Linked DNA regions of Homo sapiens: region 1 is linked to region 2. Evidence: promoter capture Hi-C in 16 types of primary human blood cells and fetal thymus (Javierre and others, 2016). All regions are on one chromosome and are shown on one strand. The core of a region is centred on a gene start or on the middle of the fragment in contact, and the rest is flanking DNA. Distances in the headings are between cores, read along the strand shown. Region 1 overlaps ANKRD17 (ankyrin repeat domain 17). Region 2 holds the start of NOA1 (nitric oxide associated 1).

The links. Contacts are between HindIII fragments. The CHiCAGO score rates a contact against its expected background, and 5 or more counts as called.
Region 1: a contact is called between a fragment that was not itself captured here and the fragment with the promoter of NOA1 in region 2, in 1 of 17 cell types (total B cells). The highest score is 5.3, in total B cells.

What each region holds. Positions count from the first base shown.
Region 1 is chr4:73,219,814-73,222,672 of GRCh38, reverse strand. All of the region lies in intron 1 of ANKRD17 (ankyrin repeat domain 17), which reads left to right. Among named protein-coding and RNA genes, the nearest start is that of ANKRD17, 38 kb to the left of the region's middle. The HindIII fragment of the contact is 3,013 bases long and covers 96-2,859 here.
Region 2 is chr4:56,976,252-56,979,057 of GRCh38, reverse strand. It overlaps NOA1 (nitric oxide associated 1), which reads left to right and starts at 1,452. Exons shown (of 7, transcript NM_032313.4): 1 at 1,452-2,616. The coding sequence starts at 1,473. POLR2B (RNA polymerase II subunit B) reads right to left here and starts at 162. Exons shown (of 25, transcript NM_000938.3): 1 at 54-162. The coding sequence starts at 72. RefSeq lists enhancers at 1,710-1,779, 2,160-2,219 and a silencer at 1,880-1,959. The HindIII fragment of the contact is 14,072 bases long and covers 269-2,806 here.

The sequences.
Region 1 (2,859 bases), core at 353-2,852, about 16 Mb before region 2:
ATTAACTCATTAGAAGGTGGGGTCTGCAAAGCAGCTTTGAGTAAGGTTTAGTATCATATGTCTTAGAATTCATTTACATATCTAAGCCTAAAGCTTTGCTGCAGTTAACTATTAAAAACGGTTATTTTAGCTTTAAACTAAGCATGTTTATATCAATCTGATTGCTTAATTTAGCTGGTATACTCTGGTCCTAGATTTTTCATGTGACTTTGATTATTATAAAACAAATTATTAAATTAAAAATATTAAAACCCTGAAATTTAGGGCACTGATGCTAGAGAGACATCAATACAAAATTACTATAATTTGAATCATGAACATTTTAAATTATATTTTCTCTTTTCTGGTTGTAAAAATTTTATAAGATCCTATTTGAGTATAAATCAGTCCAAGGAAATACATGTCAAAGTGAAACTATAATTGCTTTTGGCATTGAATGTAGTATACTATTAGAAATTTGTATTTATAGGTATAGGTATTTAAATCTCATATTCTTATCTGTGGGATTGTGTAGGGTTTTTCTTTTTTTTCCTCATTAGATAAAACCTGGGTAATTCAGATAAAGAGGCTTTATGGTGGTGAGTGGTATTCCTAATACTTAGACTGTTGAGATAATTTATTAACTATTTCACATCTTCAGGAAGATTATTTTACTGTGGGGAGAGGGCTTGGGAGAAGAAGCTGCAAAGGGAAGCTAGGCGGGGTTAGCAGGAGAAAAAAGCCTATGCGCATTATAAAGTGCTGCATGATCAATGAGTATTTTCTGGAGTCCCTCAGTGTGTGCTTGGAGCTGACATTGCAGCAAGTCTCATGGTTGTTCTGCAGAATGAAAACTGATTCCATTTATTACCTACCTCCTTGCAGACACCTGCCAATGTGCTCTTTTCCCCTTTCCTAAAAGCTGTTAGGTCTAAGTTGAATTGTGGTTAATTTTTATTCTTTTCTCTTTTATTTTTTACTTTGTTTCTATTAGTGAGTTTCCTTAAAAATGTGTGGTAAAATTATCTACTTAGAAATAGTAGTATAAACTTTCATCAAAGGAGTTTAGTAATTACAAGTGGCCACATGACTTTTTAGTGGTTCAGTTTAAATAAGCCTAATTAGATTACAGAGTTCTAGTGTTACATTTTAATTTGCTTTTAAAATTTTTTGGTTTGGATTTTAAAGAAGTGTGCTTTGGAGATTTTGATAAATCTATTTGACAATTTTTCTTAGCCATTTAAAACTTCAGCATATAACAGATTTTAGAAGTCTTATTTATGTTCTGAGGAAATCCTACTTGAGCACTGTTTTGTGCTTTATGCATAGGTTTTTTTAATGCTACCTGAACAACTGGCTTTTTATTATCTCAATTGTTTAATACCATGTTAAGATTTCATGTTACCTTATTTATTCAATGTTGCTAGTTATTAAAACAACCTCTGCAATTTTAGTTTTCCTAATTCTCAATTTATCTTAATTTAGTTTCTATGTACCTGTTGCATCCTATCATACTAAATAAGTAGCTTTTTCTCTTTATTTAAAATATCATTTGACTTAAATATTTGTCAATCTTGGTAACATTTTCTAAGTAGTAATAAAAGAGCCTTATCCAAAGTTATAAGTACTCATAATGACACAGTGCTAAAAATACAGAGTGCAAAGAATAAATTTGCTAACTTTGCAGATAAATGTACCATTTTCTAAAGCACCTCATATTGCAAGTAAACAGATATTTATTACATAATGAGCTTTCCAGAAAAATATATTCCCTAGCCCTCTACCCCCCACAGGGATAACTCCTTGAATAAATGTCCAGTAATGGATAATGAAGTTCATCTGTATACCACAGTGACAGTTTTATTATTGTACTTAATATTGAGCTACTTGAAGTTCATTACCGTAATTTTCACCTTTGTGATTTTATTTATTGAACATACGGAATTTTATGTAGATTATGCTTATTTGCATTGAATAAATATTAGACTCTTTTTTTCCTGTCTTTGTAACTTGATCTTTTGAATCATAAACTTCTTAAAGGTACTCTTATTGAATATTAGTTAACAAAAGTCAATATCATTAGTGAACATAACACAAATGATTTCTCATAATACTATGGCTTACCTTTTAAACTGTGATTACTGATTATATATGCCCACATATATTTAAGTTGACTATTTAGACCTTTAAAATCTTAAGTAAAATACTCTCTAAAATGTATAATAAAATTAGAAAAGGTGGATTTCAACTTACATCATTGCTTTTCAACAGTCCAAGGTAAGGGATTAAATAGAGTGTCTTGGCTATTTCATTTATTCAAATAATCCAGGCAGTAATTTTCTTCTCCAAACCAAAGGCATCAAAGTATTTCCGTTCCTTCTGCCTACCTTCTGTAAAAGGAACTAATACTCAGGAAAGTAGCCATATACAGATGGCAGAAAAAGGGCTGACAGCTCATATAAATACCTCTTTTCTTGTTCTGTTTATGTTTTCCTGAGACATGATTATAATTTTAGAATTTTGATGACCTTCCTGTAAAATTATGTGTAACAATAGATTGTACTACTTAGAATGATCAATAAGAGGAAAAATGTCTTCCAATTTTATATCCCAAATTTACATGGCCAAGGGCTGTGTATATAAACCTGTGGTTTATATGTTGGCTTTTTTATATGAAAACATGAAACAACTGAGAGATCATTTCAGAAACTTGGTTACTGTATATTTAGTGTTATTATTTATAATTGAGCCAGTTTTAGGAGTCTTAGTAATAAGAAATCTTCACAGATATTTCCATCCTTTAATTTTGATTAAGTTCAGATTGTTCTGGGTATAGTATTTGATATATTTTTGCTTTAAGAAAGTAGGAAATTTTATGAA
Region 2 (2,806 bases), core at 203-2,702:
CGCTTTCCTGCTTAAATGGACCGCCACGGCGTGTGTTTTGAGCGTTCACCTACCCTCATCCGCGTCGTACATATTGCCAAACGGTTCTCGAGCTCCTAACTCTTGAAATCAAAAGACAAAAACCGCCCAGAAGCCAGCAGCGCCAGGAGCTAAAGACGAAGTAACTTCCGTCTCCGACGTTCCCAGAATACCACGCGTCTCACACCAAAGGCCGCCCACAGGGACGCCAAAGTTAGGATCTGCGCCTGCGCAAATTGTAGGTCAAGCTTGGGCCGGGGTTAGGGTTGCACACGCGTAAATTGTGGGCCGCCGCTGCCGGGCTGATTGAGAGGACAGCTCCCGCAATCTGCGGTCGTATCCGTTCCGTCAATGTTTTATTTCTGCTTGTTTTTCAATGTTGTTGCACAAATAACGACACCTGAAAACAAAACCAGGTATACTTATTATTAAAAAGTGTTCGTCCTGTGAATCCGCAACATTGGGATGCTCAATTTATTTGCCTTTATAAGGACCAAAACACGAAGCTATTTTTTATTTTTATTTATTTATTATTTTTTGAAATGGAGTCTCGCTCTGTCGCCCAGGCTGGAGTGCAGTGGAGCGATCTCGGCTCACTGCAACCTCCGTCTCCCGGGTTCAAGCGATTCTCCTGCCTCGGCCTCCCAAATAGCTGGGATTACAGGCAAGGGTCACCACGCCCGGGTAATTTTTGTATTTTTAGTAGAGACGGGGTTTCACCACGTTGGCCAGGCTGGTCTCGAACTGCTGACCTCAGGTGATCCACCCGCCTCGGCCTCCCAAAGTGCTGGGATTACAGGCGTGAGCCACGCGCCCGGCCGGAAGCTCCTTTCTGTTTTTGTTTTGTTTTGTTTTTTTGAGACAGGCTCGCTCTGTCGCCCAGGCTGGAGTGCAGTGGCGCGATCTCGGCTCACTGCAACCTCCGCCTCCCGCGTTCAAGCCATTCTCCTGCCTCAGCCTCCCGAGTAGCTGGGACTACAGGCGCCCGCCACCACGCCTGGCTAATTTTTTGTATTTTTAGCAGAGATGGGGGTTTCACCGTGTAAGCCAGGATGGTCTCGATCTCCTGACCTCATGATCCGCCCGCCTCGGCCTCCCAAATTGCTGGGATTACAGGCGTGAGCCACCGCGCCCGACCCCGGAAGCTCCTTTTTAAGTGTGATTTATTAAGGGCGGCTTGTGCTAGCAGTGAGGCGTTAAGCCTGAAAGTGAAAAAACCCAAAACACTCACTGCTCTTTTCTGCCCACCTAGCTCAATCCTCCAGTGCCTTTGCCATAGCTTTAAGTAGGTTCTCAGTCTCAGAGCTTAAATCGCGAGAACTGACGGGATTAGACGCAAAACCAACCAGGACAGCTCCCAAGTACCCACGCGCTTTCGTCTCGGGTCAAATGCGCGCCTCGGACCCTAGTGCGCGTGCGCGCTGGTGGCTCCGCCCCTTTGGAGCTACTTCCTCATGCTGCCCGCTCGCCTACCGTTCAGGCTGCTGAGCCTTTTCCTTCGTGGATCCGCTCCCACGGCAGCGCGCCATGGCCTCCGGGAGCCGCTCCTGGAGAGGAGGTGCGCTGCCGCCTCCTCCTTCCAGCACTCATCGAGTCTGGGACGCGAGCTTCCTTATGACCCCGTGGACACGGAGGGCTTTGGAGAAGGTGGTGACATGCAGGAGCGTTTTCTGTTCCCGGAGTACATCCTGGATCCGGAGCCGCAACCCACCCGCGAAAAGCAGCTGCAGGAGCTCCAGCAACAGCAGGAGGAGGAGGAGCGACAGAGGCAGCAGCGGCGGGAGGAGCGGCGACAGCAAAACCTACGGGCCAGGTCCCGGGAGCACCCGGTCGTGGGGCACCCGGACCCGGCATTGCCGCCCAGCGGCGTGAACTGCTCGGGCTGTGGGGCAGAGCTGCACTGCCAGGACGCCGGAGTGCCCGGCTACCTGCCCCGAGAGAAGTTCCTCCGCACGGCGGAGGCAGACGGCGGGCTGGCACGGACCGTGTGCCAGCGCTGCTGGCTGCTGTCGCACCACCGGCGCGCTCTACGCCTGCAGGTGAGCCGCGAGCAGTACCTGGAGCTGGTGAGCGCCGCGTTGCGGCGGCCCGGCCCCTCCCTGGTGCTCTACATGGTGGACCTGCTGGACCTGCCCGACGCCCTGCTGCCCGACTTGCCCGCGCTGGTGGGCCCCAAGCAGCTGATCGTGCTGGGAAACAAAGTGGACCTCCTGCCCCAGGATGCTCCTGGCTACCGGCAGAGGCTGCGGGAGCGACTGTGGGAGGACTGTGCCCGCGCCGGGCTCCTGCTGGCCCCTGGCCACCAAGGGCCACAGCGCCCCGTCAAGGACGAGCCACAGGACGGGGAGAATCCGAATCCGCCGAACTGGTCCCGCACAGTGGTCAGGGACGTGCGGCTGATCAGCGCCAAGACCGGCTATGGAGTGGAAGAGTTGATCTCTGCCCTTCAGCGCTCCTGGCGCTACCGTGGGGACGTCTACTTAGTGGGCGCCACCAACGCCGGCAAATCCACTCTCTTTAACACGCTCCTGGAGTCCGATTACTGCACTGCCAAGGGCTCCGAGGCCATCGACAGAGCCACCATCTCCCCTTGGCCAGGTGAGTTTTAGGAGGCTCGCCCTCTTCGTTTCCTGGCAAGGTGGACGTCTGGTCCTGGCCGAGGCACCGAGTACATCCTCCCTTAATGTCCACTGCGGGCTGCCTGTACCCTTCCCTTTACAAATTCTCTCCCCACTCTGGTCACACCTCTCTTCTGTGTCAGCTTACTGCTAGGGAAAATTGAGGATGT